Regions from separate parts of the Homo sapiens genome. Here region 2 is linked to region 1. Evidence: promoter capture Hi-C in 16 types of primary human blood cells and fetal thymus (Javierre and others, 2016). All regions are on one chromosome and are shown on one strand. Each heading gives the region's core, a stretch centred on a gene start or on the middle of the fragment in contact. The rest is flanking DNA. Distances are from core to core; before and after follow the strand shown.

The links. Contacts are between HindIII fragments. The CHiCAGO score rates a contact against its expected background, and 5 or more counts as called.
Region 2: a contact is called between the fragment with the promoter of RUVBL1-AS1 here and the fragment with the promoter of HMCES in region 1, in 2 of 17 cell types (neutrophils and naive CD8 T cells). The highest score is 6.1, in neutrophils.

The regions. Positions count from the first base shown.
Region 1 is chr3:129,277,010-129,281,661 of GRCh38, reverse strand. It overlaps HMCES (5-hydroxymethylcytosine binding, ES cell specific), which reads right to left and starts at 2,792. Exons shown (of 7, transcript NM_020187.3): 1 at 2,757-2,792; 2 at 1,747-1,952. The coding sequence starts at 1,929. COPG1 (coat protein complex I subunit gamma 1) reads right to left here. Exons shown (of 24, transcript NM_016128.4): 24 at 3,889-4,368. The coding sequence ends at 4,238. RefSeq lists an enhancer at 1,638-1,767 and silencers at 2,188-2,577, 2,588-2,937. The HindIII fragment of the contact is 5,702 bases long and covers 1-3,018 here.
Region 2 is chr3:128,072,590-128,077,415 of GRCh38, reverse strand. It overlaps RUVBL1-AS1 (RUVBL1 antisense RNA 1), which reads right to left and starts at 1,606. Exons shown (of 2, transcript NR_046645.1): 1 at 1,337-1,606. It also overlaps a transcript of RUVBL1 not described here and the pseudogene RNU2-37P. RefSeq lists silencers at 9-108, 1,450-1,889, 1,900-1,949. The HindIII fragment of the contact is 15,687 bases long and covers 1-4,826 here.

The DNA of each region.
Region 1 (4,652 bases), core at 1,543-4,042:
CAGAGTACAGTGGCACAATCTTGGCTCACCCCAACCTTCGCCTCCCGGGTTCAAGCGATTCTCCTGCCTCAGCCTCCCAAGTAGCTGAGATTACAGGCGCCCGCCATCACACCCAGCTAATTTTTGTATTTGCAGTAGAGACGGGGTTTCACCATGTTGGCCAGGCTGGTCTCGAACTCCTGACCTCAGGTGGTCCAGCCGTCTTGGCCTCCCAAAGTGCTAGGATTACAGGTGTGAGCCACCATGCCCAGCCTGTTATCTTTATTTCAAAATGATGTGATTCCCTATAATGCAGAAATGAGTCCTTTTTGACTATCATATTATCACAAAAGTTTAAAGAGTATGTACCAGAGGTATAATCAACTTTATAAAGTGATTTCAGCATTATGAATCAAATACAGTCAAAATTCAGGAAGGAAACAATCACAATTTTTTTTTTTTGAGATGGAGTCTCGCTCTGCCGCCAGGCTGGAGTGCAGTGGTGCAATCTCAGCTCACTGCAACCTCCACCTCCCAGGTTCAAGTGATTCTCCTGCCTCAGCCTCCCAAGTAACTGGGACTACAGGTGCGTGCCACCATACTCAGCTAATTTTTGTATTTTTAGTAGAGATAGGGTTTCACCATGTTGGCCAGGATGGTCTCGATCTCTTGACCTCGTGATCCGCCCGCCTCCACCTCCCAAAGTGCTAGGATTACAGGCGTGGGCCACCGTGCCCAGCCAACAATCACGATTTTTAAAAACATGTCAAGGTCATTTAAAATATTTAAGACATGGAGAAACTATTACTTTCTAGAACGAAGCATTTTTATTACACACACATACAAAGACACACACACTTTCAGGAGATAAGGCAAAAAACTAAAATATGAATGTAAGTGACTGGTAATTCCAACACTACAGGGATAAATACTATAAACACAATGAATGCAATTAAACTTCAGATAACCAAACCAAATACGTGTTTCTAGCCTTAGTAAAAGACAAACACAAAAAGATTGAAAACACAAGCAGAAAGAATAAAACTTTTCAATGCTCAAGAAACATCAGAAGTGTTTTAAATTAACTGATCTTAAGCCTGTCCTAGGCCTAGAGAAGTCTGATTAAGCTGGCCTGGTAAAGGGCATAGAAATATTCTTAAATTTTTTATTTTTTTAAATTTTTTCTTTAGGCAGGGTCTTGATCTGTCACCCAGGTGGGAGTGCAGTGGTACAACCATGGCTCATGAAGCCTCGACCTCCCCAGCTCAAGTGATCTTCCCACCTCATTTTTTTATTTTTTGTAGAGATGGGGTCTCCCTATGTTGCCCAGGCTGGTCTCCAACTCCTAGGCTCAAGTGATCCTCCCACCTCGGCTTCCCAAAGTGCTGGGGTTACAGGCATGAGCCATGGCACCTGGCCTTAAATTTTTTTATTATATTTTTAAGATACTCCAATGACCCTGATGATCAGTGAAAGCTGCTATTTTAAAACACAAAGCTCATATAAATTTGGCATATATTAAGGCTAGTATGCCATGTATAGCAAAGGCATTTAAATTGAGCCTGAAAAATACGTCTTTATCAGTGTTAGAAGCCACTGATAAAACTTCTTTCATGAGGCCAAGAGAGGTTCTCAACTGGAAGTCAGAATATATCAGTAAAGGCTGGTTTTTAATGTCATCCCAAGAGGCTGAGCACACACCAAACCAAATAGGAGATGACCATCACGAGGCTGGGCGAGGGGCTAGCATAGTGCAATGCTGGTTACCTTCTCAAAGTGCAGTCGAGACAGAAGCACTGGGCTGTTGGATTGAGGACTCTTGTTGTAAGAGGGGCAGTACTTATCAGGGTCCCTCCACTCCGGGAGCCGCTGCTGGCCCCGCCGATCCTGGTAGGCGCAAGCTCTCGTGAGAACATCTCTAGGTAAGTGACAGGATGTTCGCCCACACATTCTTCAACACCGCCCCTCGCAACCTTTAAATTACAAAACGTAAGGAAAAGGCTTACGTATCTCAAATATTAGGTCTTATTCCTTGAGTCCCCGCCTTCTCTTTCCGTTCCCACAGGGCCGTGCCCCTCCGTGACCACCGTCTAAAGTCTTCCCCAAAAAGTCCCACAAAGACAAGGATGTGCCCGTTTGCTTCGCTCCCTGAGCCCACTGCCCAGCTCCGTGCAGGGCACTGAGGCAAGTCCCGAGAGGAGCTCTGCAAATGCCTGCCTGAGCGCAGGAAGAGCCGCAGCGGAGGGGGCTTCACAGTCCAGCGAAGCAGGGCAAGCGCAGCTAGCTGGGGTCGCCTCCTCCGGGTGACTTGGTGCCCCCAACTCCCCGTCCTTCCCCCCAGTCCCCGCTGGGGTCAGCGACCCACGCCGGCCAGCAACCGGTCACCTCGAGGGCGGCCACTGGACGGCCCGGGGCCGGGGTGCAGAATCCCCGCCTCCCGCCCGCTAGTCCGCAGCGTCCCCGGGCCCGACCTGCGAACCTGTGGGCCGCGGATCCCGCTCCGGACTCTGCTCCCCGGAGCGGGGGCCGGTGCTCGGGGAGCAGGTGGCCCCCAGCCACCGGCCGCGATCCCTCGCCCCTCCCCGCGTCGCCTCCGCTCCGCTCCGGCCCTCAGACTCCGCCGCCCCGCGTCGCCTCACTTCGGCCCAGGCCGCCCTCTCCGCGTCGCCTCGCGTCCGCTCGGGCCTCTGCTCCCCTCTGTCAGCTCGCGTCGCTTCCTTTCCCCTCCCCTCCCCTCGCCATACCCCGACCGCCCGCGTCGCCTCCCCTCCCCTCACCTCGCCCCGGCAGCGCGCGTCACCTCCCTCGACTCTCCTCACCCCCGCTCCGCTCCGCTTTGGCCACCCGCGTCACCGCCCCTCACGTCAGCCCCGCCTCAGCCCGCGCTCCCGGCGCCAGGCCCCGCCCCCAAGGGCCCTTGGTTCCCGCGGTGCCCTCGGGCCCCGGAGGCGGCGTCTTCTCCCCTCCGGTTTGGGATGAATTTTCTCCCGTTTCCCCAGGAGACAGTGACTGCCTTGGGAGACATATCGATCCCAAGCTTCTCGGGACTCCACTTTCCTCCATATTGGCCGTTCCCTGGCGGGGTTAACCTTCCTCCCCGCCCCCAGCGTGTTTCAGGGCTGGCAGGGAAGGTTCCCGCCGCGCTGAGTCTAGGGCACAGGGTCATGGAAGGCGGGAAACCAGGAAACTCCACTCCTTACTTCACAGTCCTGCCAGCTGCCTCACAGTGCGAGGCAAAAATGGAGGAACACTGAAGAAATGAAAGTCAGAAGAACTTCCAGGAATCGCGCACTTCGCCCTCAAACATTGGTGGGCACTAGAATAAGCCTTTCCTGCCCCAGCCCCTCAGCTGAATCTCTAAGGGTGAGGCCCAGATTTTTAAAACAGCCCTTTCGGGTGTACTTTGGCCTCAAAGTTGGTAAAATAGCCTGGCTTGAGTTTAAAAGCCTGCTCCCCTTGGGACCTAAACCGGAGATTCTTCATCTGCAACCAACAGAGAATGCTCTAGAGGGCTGTTCGCCTATGCTGATTCGCTGAACTGAACAGGGAGCAGAAACCCCAGGGCACACTCCATGTAAGACCAGATGCTGGAACGATCAGACACAGGACCCAAGCCCTTTGGAGCCTCCATTTATCGACTATCAAAGGAGGATGCGTTGTGAAGAAGCACGAACGGGAGGGAGTGTGAACTCTGCCTGTTAGCTGATTCACTCAACCACCCTCTACCGCTCCCACCCCTGGGCTTGGTGCTGGGACAGCGATGACGGGGAGAGGGTCCTGCCTCACAGGACTACAACAGCCAAAGGGCTGTGGGTGCAAGGGGGACAGGGCAGGTGTTCTGCCTCTTTAGGGGAGGCCTTGAAGGGGAAGGTGGAGCCCTGAAGCATGAGTCTGCAGAAGTAGCAATCATTCAATAAATACATGCTGATTTATTACAGGGATAAGATGGTTTCTTGGGGGATAGATTCAAGAGGAGTTGAGAATGTTTTATTCATTTACAATGTCCCTTTCCTGGAAGGGTGGACAGCAAGATTTAGGACAAGCTAAAATCATCCCCTATTTAAAAAAAAAAAAAAAAAAAGTCACCAGCAAGTAGTCCCGGGTGGGAGGTGGGAGCAGAATAAAAAAAAATCTGCAATGATTCCTAATTGTTTTTCAATACAGAAGCTTGGGAAGGGGTTTCTGCCAGTTTCATGAGGAAGGCACAACTTCCAGGTAGTGTTGGGGAAGGGTATGAGGTCCTATGCAGGCTGGCCTCTTATCCCACAGATGCCAAGATGATGTCTACTGGCAGCTCCTCCAAACTTCTGGCTGTCACCTGCATTGTCACTGTGTCCAAAAGCAGCAGCCGGGAGCGCACCAGGATGTCATGACCACCCCGGAACACACCTAGAAGGGAAGAGAGAAGTACAGATATATACAGCAGAAGGGACTGTACAGGGCAGGCTAAGGATGGCATTTGCAGCAACCCATGAAGGCAGCTCTGGTGTAGTGAAACGGGCAGGAGAGCTGGGCTGAAATCCCTGAGTGAGGGATTTCACTGTGAAAGTCACTGTCTCTCAGCCAGGCGCGGTGGCTCACGCTTGTAATTCCAGCACTTTGGGAGGCTGAGGTGGGCAGATCATGAGGTCAGGAATTCGAGACCAGCCTGGCCAACACAGTGAAACCCCATC
Region 2 (4,826 bases), core at 357-2,856, 1.2 Mb after region 1:
CTTTCTTGCTTCCTCCAGTATGCAGCCACTCCCCTTCCATTTGTTCTGGGGAGAGCAGGCCATAAGAGGATAGGGGGTGAGGGAGGCCTGGGCAGGGGGGCTGGGGAGCTTAGGGTGCAGGGCGGGCCACGCAGCAGGGCCCCGGAACTGTGAAGGGGTGGGCCGGCCACGGGGGCTGCCTGTCGTCCCCTGCTGCCCTGCCGCCCCTCCCGTCACTTGGCGGCAGGCACGGTGATTAATGGCCAGGCCGTGCGGGCTGGGCGGCCATCAGCGCGCGTCTCGGCGACGGATGCGGCTGTCAGGCCGGCCCGGCCCGCGCTGACCCCCGGGCAGGGGCCCGGCGCGATCAATGGGCGGCGCGCAGCGGGCGGCGGCTGGGCCGCCGCGATAAGATGGGCCGATGGGCGCCTGCCGATTGCCCGCTCCGTCACCCGCCGTCACCGTCACCGTCACGCCGCCAGCACGCAGATCAGCGCCGTCAGCGCCGCGTGATTAATGGGGACGCCGGCAGCTGCGGGGAGGGCGCGGGCATGCGGACCCCGCACCCAGAGGGACATGGTGGGGTGCGGGGTGCGGGCTGGGACGCCGCACACGGCACGCTGCACTTACACTGGAGCCGCATGCAGGGAACGGGGGACACGGCGGGATGCGGGCTGCAGGTCTGGGGCACACGGCGCAGGTTTTCACGGGGCTGCGCGCGCGCGTGTGTATGTAGTGGGTGGAGGTCCCGGTGCCACCGTGACACAAGGGCCTGAGTGACTTAGGCCTGAGGGGTGGGGGGAGGAGGGACCACACCTACTGTGACCTCCCCACCGCGATCCCTGCCTGGCCTAGGCCTCAGCCACCAGGTCCACCAGCCTCTTCGGTCTTTGCAAGCCTGCCCACTGTCCCAACCATCTTTGAGAACCCAGACTAGACGGTCAGGACCCCGACCCAAAACCCTTCCACAGGTCCCATGGCTAAATCCCAGGTTCCCCACCCTCCCGGCAGGCCCGCAGGAATGCCGGCCCCGCCTCTCCATGCCGGCCGCCCCCCTGTGCTCCTTTAGCTGTCATCGCAAGTGGTCCCGTCCCCCAGAGCTTCGTCCCTGGGTCGGGTCATGCTGTTGGGGACGCCCTGAGCGCTCTCAGCGCACCGTTGGCCCTGCTCGCTCCCCACCGGGTGAGGAGGGCAAGAGCCGGCTTCCCACCCCCCTCCTCCGCGCCAGAGCGCACAAATCCCCACTCGAAGCGACCTGCCTCTGAGGCACTGCCCCTCCAGAATAGCGCTGGTCCGCCGGGACCCACTCGGAACTCGGGAATCGGGAGGGAGAGGCTCGCCCAACCCAAATACCCACATGCCGCCAGGGAGGAGCCGTGTGCCAGGTGTGCAGAGAGGGGGCCGGAGGGCTTCCCAATGCCAGTGACAGGAGCGCAGCAGGGACAGCCGGGCGCGAGTGTGGGACTGACCCGAAGTCCGAACTGCCAAGGAGAGCGAGACGAGGGGAAGGGGGGGGCCCCGGCTGGGTGGACTGGGGCCTATCCCGTGGGCAGTGGGGATCTCAGGGCCAAGCGGCAGCGGAGGCAGGACCAGCCACTCTCACTTTTCCCCTCGAAAACCACAGCGTTCCAGGGCCGCGAGGCACCCCGCGGGAGCTTGCGAGGACACAGCGCCCCCGTGTGGGCGGACGCGCACAGAGTCGCGCCCGTGGCGTTTCGGGCCCAGGCTCCGCCCCCGCCGCGCTGCCCCTCCCCCCATGGGGGCGTGGCCAGGCCTAGCCCAGGGATCCGAGATTCCAAGTCACACCCAGCACGACTTGGGAAGTCGCGACGAAAGTGCGCGACTTCCCAGCAAGCGAGGTTGAAGTCCCGGCAGGCAGGGAGGAAGGCGTGTGTCCCCCCGTGCATGCGGGGAAGGAGCAGTGGGGGAAGGCTGAGTTGGGCTTTCAATTAAAAAAAATGTGCATACACTTAGTTTTTTGATGCAAAATTGCCAAAGGCGTGTACCGTGAAAACCTACCTCGACACCTGCCCCCTGCCTCCTGTTCCCTTTCCGGAAGCGCCTGCCTTACACCGGTGTGTTCCTCTAGAGATGGCCAGGACCTGGGTGAGGCAGCACACACTCACAGGACCTTCCCAACACTCATTATGAAACATATCACATGGAAAACTGCAAGAATTACAGGCAATCGCCTCTCAGCCTTTGGCTAAGATCAAGTGTAGTGTTCTTATCACTTTAATATCTGCTATCTGAGGACAGTATGTTAAATGGATTTTTGGAGCAGGGAGATGGAATAGGACCTTGCTCTTTCCACTCCATGCATCCACCTGGTATTGCAGTACCTCCAGGAATAGTGCACCCCCTTTGGGGGAATAAAAAAAAAGGATTGCAGGTGAGCCCCCATATCCCTGTCATCTAGGCACTGCACTGCCCATCCCCCTGTCTGCCTGCCAGTCAGTCTTGTCAGTCTTCTGTGCATTTCAAAGTGAGTTGCAGATACAACAACCTCTGTAAATAGTTAAGCATGTGTATAATTATCTAGAGTTCAGTACTTGATTATGGTTTTTTAAGTTTTTTTTTTTTTTTTTTTTTTTGAGACGGAGTTTCGCTCCTGTTGCCCAGGCTGGAATGCAATGGCGCCATCTCAGCTTACTGCAACCACCGCCTCCCGGGTTCAAGTGATTCTCCTGCCTCAGCCTCCCAAGTAGCTGGGATTATAAGCGCATGCCACCACACCCAGCTAATTTTGTGTTTTTAGTAGAGATGGGGTTTCTCCATGTTGGTCAGGCTGGTCTTGAACTCCTGACCTCAGGTGATCCACCTGCTTTGGCCTCCCACAGTGCCAGAATTACAGGCATGAGCCACTGTGCCCGGCTGCTTATGGTTATTTTTAAACGTTAAAAATACAGTGAAATGTACAAATCCTAAGTGGAGCACTCCATGAGTTCTGACTAATGAAACCCAAATCCCAGTGAAGGATATTACTATTGCCCAGAAAGTTCCTTGTGCCAATCTCTAACACACTAGAGGCAACCACTGTTAGAATTTTTTTTTTTTTTGCAATAGATTAGGTTTTCCTGCTCTAGAATTTCATGTAAATGGCATCATACAACATGACTTGTTTCTTTCACTTAGCTTTTGAGCTCCTGAATGTTGTGTGTATGGATAGTTTATTTTTTATTGCTGGGTAAAATGCCACCCTGTGGATCCACCACATGTATCCATTTGCCTGTTGATGGCCACCTAGGCTGTTCCCTATTTTTCAGCTATTATGAACATTCTTGTACAAGTCTTTGTATAGGCATATATTTTCATCTTGGGTTTCAATACCCAGGAGTAGAATAGCTGGGTGTAGGGTAAGTGTATGTCTAGTTTTATGGGAAATTGCTACACCTTTTCCTGATGTAGTCTATTAGTCACTTCCTACCCCCCTTTTAAACACAAATGGTAGCATACGCTATTGTTTCTTGCTTTCTGTATTCTTCCTTGACAGCATATCTTGGAGATTCTTCTAACTCAACATATAAAGAATGTCCTCCTAGTTCCTTTCCACAGGGAGGAGCTGCTGTAATTTATTCAGCCCCCTCCGATGGGCATTTAGATGTTTCTAGCCTTATTGAGCTGTGCTTTGAAGGATGAACAGGAGCTTGTCAGGCAGACAGCAGAGGGAACAAGGCCCACAGGTTTGACAGACACTGCAGAACCCTTACTGCTGGGGCATGAGCTTTTAAGAGGAGAGGCACCTTCTGTTCCATTTCCCCATGAGGCTCAATAATGTTTGCTGAGTGGAAAGGAGTGGGTAATGTGGCCCTAGAAGGGATTGGGGCAGGGGAGTGAGGTGGGCACTACCACTTAGGGGCACACCTGGCTCTCCAGAACCAGGCATTGGTAGGTGCTGAAGCTCAGGTTGGGGCTTTTGCTGACTCTCGGACAGTGCCACATGCCCATCCCCTGGCCCTCATCAGGAATCCGTTGCTCTTCCCCAGGCCATGGGGCTCAGACCCCTCAGAAATGAGATGGGAGGCTCATCCCAGCCTTCCTGAGGACTTCATGCTGGCCTGGCTTCAGCAGGAGCAGGCTGGGGGCGGGGTATGGGGTAGGGCATCAGCAGGTCCAGGGAGGCAGTGGTAAAGCAGCACCATGGATGGAGCGGAGTGCCAGTTGAAGCGGGTGCTGCCCCTGAGCCAAGGGCAGCAAGGGGAAGCTCCGGGGGTGGGGCCTGTTTCCCTAGACTCCTCATTCCTTGCCCCAGCTACGTCCCTAGCAGAAGTACCTGCAGGCAGGACCAGCAGCCAGACAGGGACTTGGAGTAGGAAGTGAGCCTTAGGCTTTTTGTCCTGGCTCGGGAGCTAAGTGACTTTTGGCCACACTCTATTTCCCTGGGCCTCAGTTTCTTCACCTGTAAAATGGACGGACTTGTTTCCTCCTGGGCCTCTAGTGGGGTGAAGTGAGAGCACATGTAGGAAGTGGCTGGGACAGTGCCTGCCCCAAGGGAAAAAGCAGAGTAAGCCTTACCCCCCCATCACTGTGCATTAGTTCCCTGTGCATGGGGAGGAGCCAGGTGGAGAGACACCAGGGCCTGCCATCTTGAAGCGTGCGTGGCTGCTGGAATGTGGGCTCCGTTTGCTCTCAGGCAAGAGGGGCCACGGCCACAGGTGCAAACGAATACCTGAGGCACGAGAGATGGCCTACTGCTTCCCTGGGGCAGCAGGTTTTCTAACATATTTATACTGGCAAGCACCCTGCCTGCCTCAGCAATTCACAGCGCCTGGCTGGTCTGGAGCCTGAGGCCACGTGCTGTGCTCCTGTCCAGGGCCTCCCTGAGCCCTGAGGCCAGCAGGTGCAGA